Linked DNA regions of Homo sapiens: region 1 is linked to region 2. Evidence: promoter capture Hi-C in 16 types of primary human blood cells and fetal thymus (Javierre and others, 2016). All regions are on one chromosome and are shown on one strand. Each heading gives the region's core, a stretch centred on a gene start or on the middle of the fragment in contact. The rest is flanking DNA. Distances are from core to core; before and after follow the strand shown.

Evidence for each region. Contacts are between HindIII fragments. The CHiCAGO score rates a contact against its expected background, and 5 or more counts as called.
Region 1: the fragment with the promoter of THAP1 here is called in contact with the fragment with the promoter of CCDC25 in region 2 in 1 of 17 cell types (total CD8 T cells); the score reaches 6.3 in total CD8 T cells.

What each region holds. Positions count from the first base shown.
Region 1 is chr8:42,839,835-42,846,521 of GRCh38, forward strand. It overlaps THAP1 (THAP domain containing 1), which reads right to left and starts at 3,491. Exons shown (of 3, transcript NM_018105.3): 1 at 3,190-3,491. The coding sequence starts at 3,260. LOC124901940 (a long non-coding RNA gene) reads left to right here and starts at 3,100. Exons shown (of 2, transcript XR_007060901.1): 1 at 3,100-3,549; 2 at 3,933-5,578. RefSeq lists enhancers at 3,084-3,874, 3,210-3,569 and a silencer at 3,090-3,179. The HindIII fragment of the contact is 1,565 bases long and covers 2,686-4,250 here.
Region 2 is chr8:27,768,722-27,774,855 of GRCh38, forward strand. It overlaps CCDC25 (coiled-coil domain containing 25), which reads right to left and starts at 3,919. Exons shown (of 9, transcript NM_018246.3): 1 at 3,792-3,919. The coding sequence starts at 3,819. ESCO2 (establishment of sister chromatid cohesion N-acetyltransferase 2) reads left to right here and starts at 5,833. Exons shown (of 11, transcript NM_001017420.3): 1 at 5,833-5,886. It also overlaps the pseudogene RNU6-1276P. RefSeq lists enhancers at 3,603-3,912, 5,461-5,610 and a silencer at 5,721-5,890. The HindIII fragment of the contact is 7,740 bases long and covers 1-5,399 here.

The DNA.
Region 1 (6,687 bases), core at 2,241-4,740, about 15 Mb after region 2:
GTGCCTGGCCCTCATTCATTAACGTTTAACTTTTTATACTGAGTTCACCAAAAGATTCAGGTAAAATACATACTATAGAGTAAATGTGCCCACGGCTCATGCCTGTAATCCCAGCACTTGGGAGGCCACTGTCCGAGGGACTACTTAAGTCCAAGAGTTCGAGACTAGCCTGGGCAACACGGCAAAACCCTGTCTCTACAAAAGACACAAAAATTAGCTGGGCATGGTGGTATGTGCCCAGGTACTCAGGAGGCTGAGACTGAGGTGGAAGGACTGCTCGAGCCTGGGAGGTCAAGGCTGCGGTGAGCTGAGATCATTCCACTGCACTCCAGCCTGGGTGACAGAGCCATACCGTCTCAAAAAGAAAAAAATAACCTGTATTCATATTTTTTACCAGTAATTTTCTGTGTGCTGCACAGAGAGACAAAGATTGCACATTTGTATCTGCGTACTGGGAAAAAGGGGCTTCTAGTTCTCTTAGCATCAGTCTGACAAATATGAATAGGCTAAATTTGAATTAAAGGCAGATAATAACGAAAGAATTTATTTTCTAATCAACTGGGATGTCCATTAGGCCCAGGTAAACGGGGATAGTGAGAGTTTACATTTATTGTGGTAATTTTACTCTTCCAAGTTAAGAATTTGGTAAACTGGGGGGATTAGAAAGAAAAAGGGAAGGGAATTTCAAATTTATGTTTCACAGTCTCTCTTCCATGTACGATATGCTAGAGCCTGACTCTGCTAGTAAGAGATCTTTATGACAGTCCCTTTTCTTTGTACGACATAGCACTCTCCGCTGCCACTATGTAGAGGGTGGGAGAAGTGGTACTCCTAGAAAATCTCAGCTGGGGCTGGGCATGGCCTGTAATCAGGCCTGTAATCCCAGCACTTTGGGAGGCTGAGGAGGGCGGATCAGGAGGTCGAAGTATGGAGACCATCCTGGCCAACATGGTGAAACCCTGTCTCTACTAAAAATACAAAAATTAGCTGGGCGTGGTGGTGCACACCTGTAGTCCCAGCTACTTGGGAGGCTGAGGCAGGAGAATCACTTGAACTCGGGAGGCAGAGGTTGCACTGAGCTGAGATCGTGCCACTGCACTCTAGCCTGGTGACAGAGCAAGACTCCATCTCAAAAAAAAAAAAAAAAAAAAAAGAAAGAAAATCTCAACTGGAACGGCCTCTATAAGTATAAACTAGGGTAGCATTTGCTGGTAAAATTCAGTACCTATGGCCTCCTGGCTCTGTAAGTATAAACTATGGTAGCATTTGCTGGTAAAATTCAGTACCTAGGGCCTCCTGGCTCAAGGACAACAAATTTACAGCTGTTTGTGAGATTCTCTTAAGATCTTTCCCATCTACTCTCCCTAAACCTGCTATTTTAGATAAGGGATAAGATGCAGGTTAGCCCTTCTTTTGATTCAATCCATATCTGCTTAACATCTAGCAGAAACAGTTGTATCTTTTTTTTTTTTTTTTTTTTTTTTTGAGATGGAGTCTCACTCTGTTACCCAAGCTGGAGTGCAGGGCAAGATCTCAGCTCACTGCAACCTCCATATCCCAGGTTCAAGTGATTCCCCTACCTCAGCCTCCCAAGTAGCTAAGATTACAGGCGTACGCCTGTATTTTGTATTTTTAGTAGAGACGGGATTTTGCCATGTTGGCCAGGCTGGTCTCGAACTCCTGACGTCAGGTGATCCGCCCACCTTGGCCTCCCCAAGTGCTGGGAATTACAGGCATGAGCCATCGTGCCTCGACAAAAACAGTTATTTCCGACGTGTGAATACCCTCTTTAAACTAGTTTCCAGTGCCAATGAAACATTTTCCATAATTTTAGATTCCTTCTGCCAAGCCATCAGAAATGTGGGTGGGGAGCTGGGCATGTAATCCTGTTACCATCACCTGACCTTTCCCTACATTTAGAAAGAACATGTTTACAGAAATTCCAATTAAATCAAGAGATAATATTAGGATATCCTGAACTGAATCCTCTAAGTGTTCTATCCCCTTCTCCAAGGGGTAACATTATTACTCTGGAGACCTCTCTATGTTCTACACACTCTTATTTCTATAGGGTCCATCTCACATGATATCAAACATATTTAAAAAATGCATGGACACTCCCCTAGTAAACACAGATGGCCCCACAGCAAAAAAATAAATTAACTGAAAAGATATTTAACATTTTGCTTTTGTAATTATTTACCTAATTATAAAAGATAATTAGCTAATTACCTATGGCTAATCTGTATAGTTTACCCCTGGATCTGATTTCTTACCTATCATCTGCGTATAGCTGTCAGGAATTCTTGCAAAGAAAACTTAACATAAATGTAATTAAAATTTGTAAACAAATTCAGCTGAATGAAAATGTTATGTCACATTTTACAAGCGTTTATCATAAGTAATTACAACTCTGCACTTTTTTCCTATTTTCAAGAGAATATTTTTGATCCTATCACTTAACTGTGCTACCTACTGGATAAGACAGCTCTGAAAGCTGTGGGGCAGTTTCTTTCGAAAGAGCTTTCTCTATGCACAGGTAATGCCATAATAAATAAAGATCCGTGTGAGTCATTTTATTATGATCCATGTTGTAACTGTCCATATTATCATTATTGTGTGCTGAAAAGATAACGATTTATCTCGGCAGTACCTGAAGCTTTCTCCAAAATACAGGGTCCTTAAAGCTTAGTTCCTAGAGATTGGGGGCAAAAATTCTCCCTGATTTCCCAGCCAAAAAACCCTTAATTGCTACGATGCTGGCCTCCCATCCACGGCAAGGGCGAAAAGTAGTGATTTCTTCGTTTAAAGGCCTTTGTTTCTATTTTAAATTTACCCCTAAGACCATATTAAAACACCTGGCTGCTCTGTGACCCTGGTGGTGGCAAAACCCGCGCCACCCTAGGCATCGCCCGTGGGCTCCGAACGCGTCAACCCAGGCCGTGAGCGAAGCCTGCAACCAGGGCCTGTTCCAGGAGCGCGAGAAACGGCTGCCGCGGCGACGCGCGCCGAGAACGCGCGATCGGGCGGCGGTTCCCAGCGGGACGCGGTGGGAAACGCCCGACACGGCCGGCCCCAGACCCCACCCGCCCCTCGCGCGGACACGCGCCTGGCTCCGCCCCCGGCCCCGCCGGCCGCGCGCCCCCACCCCGGCTGAGACCGGCCCCGCGAGGCGCGCAGGGTCCTCACTTGTGGAAAGAAACGGGCTTGTCCTTGTCGTAGCGGTTCTTGCAGCCGTAGGCGGAGCAGGACTGCACCATCCTTCCGGTCCTCAGGCACTTCACTTCTGCCGCCGCAGAAGGCAGGGGAAGCTGTTCTCAGTGTCGCTGCGCTCGGTTGGATTCCCTCGCTTCTTTTGTAGCTTTGGCCAACAGTTACAGTGATGGTGGCCTCCCTCGGGGGTGACTAGTGTGCCCGTTTTGTTGTTTGCATTAGCAGAAGGACCACAGCCATCGCCCGTCTCCCATCTCCAAGATGGCGGAGGCAGCTTCAACCTCACCTCTCGCGAGGGGTGCGTCCCACTGTCTCTGATTAGCCCCGAGGTCAGAGGTAACGTTTCCTGGGAAGCTAACTATTGGCTGAGGCCAGGTGTTTCCGGCGGTGGCTTCAGAGTTGCCGAAGTGGGCGGAGCCCTGAGCTTCCGGCAGGCAGGAAGGAACTGCTTGTGGGGGGAGGAGGCGCGGCGGGAGGCCGGATTCCTGGGGCATCCTCCAGCCCCGGGCTGTTCCCGTGGGTTAATTGATGCGGACCTTTTCTGGGGCAGCTTACAGTAGGGAACAACTAGGGCCTCTTGGAGAACAGGTGTAAAGCCGAGGTCGTTGGCTGATTGCGCCCATTTCTTTAAAAGGGCGGACACAGATGGTGTATGATTAATAAAATTGTGGAACCTTTTCCCAGAGTGCTAATCTTTATCCCATTACCTGTGTCTTCAGGTATCACAAGTTTCTGTGAGAGCCAACGTGACAGATTTTTAGCAATGAAAAAAGACACACTCGCCAAATCATCTCAATTGCCAACGCAGAAGCGTTTTATATATATGTATGTATATGTATGTATATATGTGTGTATGTATATATGTGTGTGTGTATGTATATATATATATATATATGTAATTTTTTAAATAAATAGAGGCGTTGTCTCCCCACGTTGCCCAGGTCAGTCTGGAACTCGAGCTCAAGGGATCCTCCCATCTCGACCTCCCCATGGGTTGGGATTACAGGAGTTGAGCCACCAGGCTGTCCCTCCCCAGAAGCTTTTCTGAAGGCTCTCCATTGCTGTGATTTCCATGTGCTGTGTTGCAAATAGCGAACTGCTGCAGCAATTTTCACACCTGAGAGAGAATATGTTAGAGGGGTTCGAACTAGAGCGACTCTGTGTTGAGTGAGGGCTAGGAAAATGAGGCTGGGACTTGCTGGGCTGCATTCCCGGGAAGTTAGGTATTCCTAGCCTCTAGATGTGTATACCATTAAGGCAACAGATTGATAATGTTTACTACACAGACCCAGACTACCAAGTGTCCAGATATCCCGATATTTTGAGAACAGAAGCATTCCTAATTTTGCTTTAAAGATAATAATATTGGGCTGGGCACAGTGCCTCACGCCTGTAATCCCAGCACTTTGGAAGGCCGAGGCGGGCGGATCACTTGAGGTCAGGAGTTCAAGACTAGCCTGGTCAACATGGTGAAAACGTCTCTACTAAAAATACAAAAATTAACCGGGTGTGGTGGCACATGCCCTCGAATTTCAGCTACTCTGGAGGCTGAGGCAGGATAATCGCTTGAATCCGGGAGGCGGGGGTTGCAGTGAGCCGTGCTTGCACCACTGCACTCCAGCCTGGGCGACAGAGTAAGACTCTGTCTCATAAATAAAGATAATATCGATTCTTACATAATATAGTAATTAATCCTTTATCACAAACCCTTGTAGCAAAGCACATCTCCCCATGATCTTTTTTTATCCTATATATAAACTAAGTGTTGTACTTAGGGTGGACGCGTTCCTCCTCTTACTTTCGGGAATGCCCTACTCTGTCTGTGGAGTAGCTGTACTTTCACCACTTTACGTTCTTAATAAACTTGCTTTTGCTTTGTACTGTGGACTTGCCCTGAATTCTGTCTTGCGTGAGATCCAAGAACCCTGTCTTGGGGTCTGGATTGGGACCCCTTTCCTGTAACAGTTTTACTTCATTCCCTGCTCCTTTTCTTTATATAGATCTGAGCCAGGCAGACCTGGAGAGCGGACTGTTGAGTAATCCCTTGGCCCTTATTCTCTACCTTTCCTGCCCTTTTAAATGTTGCTGTTTCCCCAGGGTTCCATCTTCTGCCCTCCTCTAACTCCTAAACACCCTGCTCCTTAAACTGAACCAAATACCATAATTCTCTCATCTTTTATTTCCTTTGTATATCCGTTCTGCCTTTGGGATTATCATCTGTGAATTATCATCTGTGAATTATCTGTTCAACAGTTGTCTAAACCAGAAACCTTGGAGTCATCTTGGATTTTTTTTGTCACCCATAAAACCCGTTGATGACCAGGTTAATTTTGTAGACTAAATAAATAAATGCCCCTTAAATCCATCCCTCTTCATGTCTCCTCACTGTTGTTGTTGTTTTTTTTTTTGTTTTTTTTTTTGAGAGGGAGTCTCACTCTGTCGCTCAGTCTGGAGTGCAGTGGCACAATCTCAGTTCACTGCAACCTCCGCCTCCTGGGTTCAAGCGATTATCCCGCCTCAGCCTCCTAAGTAGCTGGGATTACAGGCACCCGCCACCATGCCTGGCTAATTTTTGTATTTTTGTAGAGATGGGGTTTCACCATGTTGGCCAGGCTGGACTCGAACTCCTGACCTCAGGTGATACGCCTGCCTCGGCCTCCCAAAGTGTTGGGATTACAGGCGTGAGCCACTGCGCCCAACCCTCACTGTTCTTTAATTATTTTTATTATTATATTTAACAGAGATGAGGTCTCACTGTGTTGCCCAGGCTGGTCTCAAACTCCTGGGTTTAAGCTATCTGTCAGCCAGGGCCTCCCAAAGTCCTGGGACTACAGGCGTGAGCCACGGCACCTGGCCTCCTCACTGTTCTTGACCAAGCTCTCATGGTCTTAACCTTGCAGCAACCCCTTAACTATCCTAGTCTCCAGTTTTACCTCTCTCCATTCTATCTTCTATAGAAGGGTGGTGCATGCCTGCCACGCCCTTGCTCATATCCTTCCAAGGCTACCTGCTGTACTGAATAAAATCCAAACTTCTTATGGTGAATTATAAAGCTCTTTAAGACCAAGTACTTCTACTCTTCCACCATCATCTCCCTCCACTTGTCTTTACCTTTGTTCCGGCTTTATGTCTTAGAGGGTAGGCTCTTTTGTGGTTTCTTTAAATAGGCTGTTTTCCTTGGCTTGAAATGCCCATCCCTGACCTGTCCACCCTTAAGATGTGGCTTAATGGCCTGGTGCAGTGGCTCACGCCTGTAATCCCAGCACTTTGGGAGGCTGAGGCGGGTGGATCACATGAGCCCAGGTGTTCAAGGCCAGCCTGGGCAACATAGTGAGACCCTGTCTCTACAAAAAAAATACAAAAATTAGCCAGGCATGTTGGCACACACCTGTAGTCCCAGATACTTGGGAGGCTGAGTTGAGAGGATTCCTTGAACCCAGAAGGTTGAGGCTGCAGTGAGCTGTGGTCATGCCT
Region 2 (6,134 bases), core at 2,669-5,168:
TACTGGAACCGGTTATTTGGAAGACACTTGACTTACGGGTAGCAACCAACCCAACTTCAGAGGTGATCTGATTATTTCACAATTTATAGAACAATCTACTTTTAGGCAGATGATATTAACAGGTATTAAAAGTACAAGTGGACTTTGAGCCAAGTATCTATAATCAGATGGTCTTAAATGTGACACTGGACTTATTAGACTAATGTTCAATTATTCCCTTATGAGACAGCATGAAAGAATGAAAATGGAACACATTTTAGTCAGATATTAATCTTAAAATGTAAAAGAACAACTTCCTATGAAGATTTTCTTCCCATTTTAAAAAAGTTTTTATGCAGTAAAAACCATCAGTTAGTTAAAAACTTGGCAAGCCATACAAATTCATTTCCTGAAGATTCTATATATTTGTTGTTTCTATACTGCCAATATGTAAAGTCTCATTACTATTTTACTGAGAAAGTTATGATTTTTCCATTAACTTTGCAGTTTTAAAAGATCAGCTGCACAAGTGCACTTTTATTAGGCTTAGAGGCCAAATATTTTTCTAACAGGAAACAGTTCTGACATTATAATGGAAGTCAATGAAAAAAAAACAGGACCCACAAATCTAGTGAAGCATTTTGCTCTATTAAGGGCAGATGTGTATGTGTGACTAACACTTAAAGAATTCAGAGTAACTTTAAGGGGAATAGAACAGCACAAAATACATTCAGTACCTATACACCCTGCCTGTATATTTGTTTTTCCATTGTTGGGTTTATATGGATATCTATGTTGTTGAAGATTCACAACTGGAGAAGTTATAAAGAGATGCCTGAGTTGCCAAGGACGAAAATGCTTAGAGGCCTATAAGGGTATATGATTTTTCAGGCTGGTTTTGAATTTTGTTTCTAGTAATTTTAATAATATGGGTAAAACAAACCACATGTACAGAGACAGAGAAATAGCTCATGGCACACACTGTGGAAGGCTAAACTACTGAGAAAAATAAGGAGATGTCAGTGTGATGAAGGTGGAAGAGTAGGGTCTGTGAGTTACAACTTCCCTGAGCCTCAATCTTACTTCTAAAGAGAAAGTATTGCCTTATTCAAACCCACACAAACAATGTGGAACTAGTTTCACTTAAATCTTACCTTTTGGCTGAGCGTGGTGATTCACGCCTTTAATCCTAGCACTTTGGAAGGCCGAGGCGGGTGGATCACTTGAGGTAAGGAGTTCGAGACTAGCCTGGCCAATATGGTGAAACCCCGTTTCTACTAACAAAATACAAAAATTAGCCACGCATGGTGGCGTGTGCCTGTAATCCCAGCTACTTGGGAGACTGAGGCAGTAGAATTGCTTGAACCCAGGAGGTAGAGGTTGCAGTGAACTGAGATCACACCACCGTACTCTAGCCCGAGTGACAGAGGGAGACTCCATCTCAAAAAAACAAAAAACAAAACAAAACAAAAACTCACCTTTTGTAATTCCAGCACTTTGGGAGGTTAAGGTGGGTAGATCACTTGAGCTCAGGAGTTCAAGACCAGCCTGAGCAACATGATGAAACCCCATCTTTACTAAAAATACAAAAATCAGCCAGGCATGTTGGCTGGTCCCTGTAATCCTAGCTGTACCAGAATCGCTTGAACCCAGGAGATGGAGGTTGCAGTAAGCTGAGATCGTGCCACTGCACTCTAGCCTGGGTGACAAAGCAAGACTCCGTCTCAAAAATAAATAAAATAAATCTCACCTTTAGACCGGGCGCAGTGGCTCATGCTGGTAATCCCAGCACTTTGGGAGGCTGAGGCAGGCAGATCACCTGAGGTCGGGAGTTCAAGACCAGCCTGACCAACATGGAGAAACCCCGTCTCTACTAAAAAAATACAAAATTAGCCAGGCTTGGTGGCGCATTCCTGTAATCCCAGCTACACAGGAGGCTGAGGCAGCAGAATCGCTTGAACCCGGGAGGCAGAGGTTGCAGTGAGCCGAGATCGTGCCATTGCACTCCAGCCTGGGCAACAAGAGCAAAACTCCGTCTCCAAAAAAAAAAAAAACAAAAACAAAAACAAAAAACTCACCTTTAACAAGCATATAGAGTAGCAATAGAATAGAAAGTGCTATAAGTAAGTAAAAAAATGGCATTCATTTATTCAACAAGCATTTATTGAGAACTACTAACCAGTCACTACGTTAGGGAAACAAGTACAGTAGTCCCCCCTTATCTGTGGGGGATGTCTTCCAAGATCTCCAGCAGATGCCTGAAACCGAGGACAACACTGAATTCCATATATAAAGGGACTTGCCACATAATGATGCTTTGGTCAGCAACAAACCACACATACTATGGTGGTCCCATAACATTATAACGAAGCTGAAAAATTCTGATCACTATTGCCTGATGACCTGGTAGCCATCATAACAGCGTGGTGCAACTCACTTTTTCTACGTTGAGACCCGTTTAAATACACAAACACCATTGCGTTACCATTGCCTACAGCCATTCAGTACAGCAACGTGCTGTACAAGTTTGTACCCTAGGAGCAACGGTATACTGTACAGCCTACATTTGTGGTAGGCTATACCACAGGTTTAAGTATACTCTACCGTGTTGCTACAACAATGAAACCGCCTAATGGAGCATTTCTCAGAATGTATTCTTGTCATTAAGGGACGCATGGCTACTGGTATTCCCTATATATGTATACCTATGATAAAGTTAATGTATCAGTTCGGTGGAGTAAGAGATTATTGACAATAACTAATAATAAAATAGAACGATTATAACAACGTACTGTAATAAAAGTTAGGTGACTCTGCTCTCTCTCTCTCTCAAAACCTTATTGTACTGTACTCACTCCTTTTCTTCTTGTGATGATGTGACCACGGAAAGCGAAATACAGGACAAGTAGGGACTACTGTAAAGAGATCCTGTCCACGCCCTCAAGGGACTTACACTCTAGCTCAAGCAGACACCATTTAATACCACGTGATAAGTGCAATGCCAAAGGCATACTTGGAACGTTAAGTGGGTCCCAGGAAAGGAATAGCTAAGCAATCTTGGGGTAGGAGCTAGCATCAGGAAAGGCATCTTGGAAAAGATGGGCCAAAACTGTCTTAAGGGAATTAGCTGGGGGTTGATTTTAGGAAAGGGGAATAACAGGAACAGAACGAAACCAAGTCGGGACACTGCATTTCCTGGGAACGAAGGGCACCCTTTCCTTATCTGTCAAAGATAAGTCAGAAGCATTACCATAGGTCACTTCTGAGATCTGGGACATCAACTGCCCGGAGAGTGGCTGGGTGGACATCCCAGGGTCTTTTTATTGTTTTCTGTTGCATCCCAGACCCTACAACCCCTTCCTGAAAGGGTAAGTCGCGCTTCCCTTAAGAAAAAGTTGTTAGCAGGTGTCTCCTTTCTCACAGGGGATAATTACAAGGGTTCAGCCAGAACAAAGGCCGCAGATGGAAGGTGGGAAGAAGACTTGGGATAAGGTGTGTGGAGGAGCCCACAGGCTCTGCCCAATCCCAGGGAGTGACGGGACGTCTTTCCGATTAGGGGACGAGAACTCCCCGATACAAACATAGCAGTGGCATCGCCCCTCCGCGCCCCCCACGCCATGACGAGGGGACGCCGGGGGAAATCCTGCAGCCGTGGGAGGGACGGATGTGCTGGGGGACCGAGAGGCCGCGGGAAGAGGCACTCGCATCCAGAAGGCATTTTAGAGCGAGGGTCAGGCGCAGCGGCGGACTGCGGGTCCCGGCTTCGGAGCCCGCTGTCCAGCAGGGTCCAGGAGGACGTGGCGCCCACTCACCGCTGCTGCTGGTGAAGTAGAACACCATGATCCCGGGAGCGGTGCGGTGACTCCACCGCGGAGCAGCAGCGCTCAACTCACGAAGCTCAGGATACCAGACTCGCGGCGGCCGCCTGGCCCCCGGAACTCCTCCGTGCACTTCCGGCGGACGTCGGGGCGCGTCATAACGCCGGCCGTGGGCGCCATTTTTAATCCTGGCGAGGCGAAGTGTAGTGGCAAGGAGTTTGGTTCAGTGATTTGTGGGTTAAGGGAAAGAGGCTGGGCATCTTGGGCACGTTAGTTAACCTGTCTGTGCTTCACTTTCCTCAGCAGCGAAATGAAGATGATACTAGAGCAGCTAACTCACAGGATATTTTTTAGGGTTAAATAAGTTAATGGGCGCCAAGGGTTTAGAACATAGCACACAAACGAGTTGTTTCTGATACTCACCAGGACAATATGCCTCTTGGGGATTGGACTTTGTTCTGGCTTAAATCGAAGGCCTGCCATCCCAAACCTCTGAACCTCAGAGGTCCTCCTGCTATAAAGTAGGAATAATCATATTCATGTAAAGCTCCTACAGCACTTGGCTTTGCCCTGATTATTTCTCTTGAGAAAGCACTTTTATCTGAGGAATGTGAGTCCCTTTAAATTACTAGGTCTGGAGAGGCATTAAGATAAGACCCCATCATGTTCTACCACCCCCTTGAGCTATGTATTCATCTACTGAAACTACCTGCTTCTGCCACAGGTAGCTACCTACTAACCTAACACTGCCACACAAGACACTATGACATGACCCACACCCTATAGTTTAACAATGTCTAGCCAATCACTGATGCTTGTAGTTTCTATACATCAATGAGAATGCTTGACAGTTGTGTATCAGCCCACTTCCTGCCCCCCTTCTTCGTCTTTAAAAACCTGCTTGTAGCAAAGGCCAGACAGAGCTCATATCCAAGCCTGCTGGTGGAGGGCGGTGGGGGGAGGGGGGTTGGAATCTTCTGGGCAGCTGTCCCCGCTTTAACTCAAGCAAACTCTACATTCTTTTTTTTTTTGCCTCAGCCTTTTCCTTTTAAACTGACACTCTTACATCACTGTCACTGACTTCATTCTATGAAATTGAGGGCGTCACTTAACGAAATTTATTTACATGCTTGCTTTGACAGCATGTATACTAAAATTGGAATGATACAGAGAACTTTAACATGGCCCCTGCTCAAGGATGACATACAAATTTGTGAAAATTAAATTTGAAAAAATAAACATAAAACTCTAAACTTATTTGAAACTAAAAATGTGCCAGAAACACTGTACCAGGAGCTGGTGACACAAAGATAGTAACAATAGCTAACAATAACCGTTTTAGGAACTTTCTGGTTTTCCAAAGTAAGAATTTAGCTCTGTTCTGTAAATAGCAATTGTTTTGGGTTCTCCGTTGTATTATTTGTAAAATGGGAATGGCAATAGATATTAATGCCTTACAGATTGTGGTAAGAAGTAAATGAAACAAAACATGTAAAGCATCTAAGAATGCCTGGCACATAGCAGGTGTTAAGTTTTATATTTTAATTTGAAAAATAAATAGAAACCTAAAGTTACTAATAAAAAAAGTGAAACTGACAATGAAGCTTCAAATGTGAAAAATAAGTGCATCGAGAATCTTGGAGAGGCCTTTATTTATTTATTTATTTATTTATTTTTGAGACGGAGTCTTGCTCTGTCGCCAGGCTGGAGAGGCCATTTTACAAAAATTTCTTACCCCGTGACCCCAGAATGTATCTCAACTTCAACTGGACCGAGAACTACAATTCCCAGAATGCACCTAAACAAGGCCCCGGGAACGGAGTCCGGCGTTGCTGCAGGGGATTGTGGGTGGCGTGGTTTCCCTCAGAGATTTTTCACCTCACCAGGGCGCGAGAATCTTGGAAACAGCCACCAGGGTGGGCGGGGCAAGGGCTGGTGCTCCACCAATCACCGAGCCAGCCCCTGGAAGCGCTGAGCCGTGGCCAATCGGAACGCAGCGGCTTCCTCCTAGCCTGGCGCGCGATTATTTGAAGACGCTCACGGAGCGGCTGGCTAGGCTGAGGAGAGCTCGCCGGGCTCTGAGGCGCAGGTAACCTCTGGAGTAGGCCGAGGCGGGGGGCTGTGGAAGGCTGAGGCGAGCGGGAGACCCTGTGGAACGTGGGGGCGAATGTCACGGGGAAAGAGCTTTTGCTCGGCGCTCGGCAGGTCCGCAGGCCCGAGACCGAAGAAGCCACTGACTCGTTCTCCGCGCTCACAGGCGCCGGGTTTCCCTCTTCCCGACGCCGGCGTTTCCTTGTTTTGGGTTTAGGGTTTGTTTGTTTGTTTGTTTCCCTGACC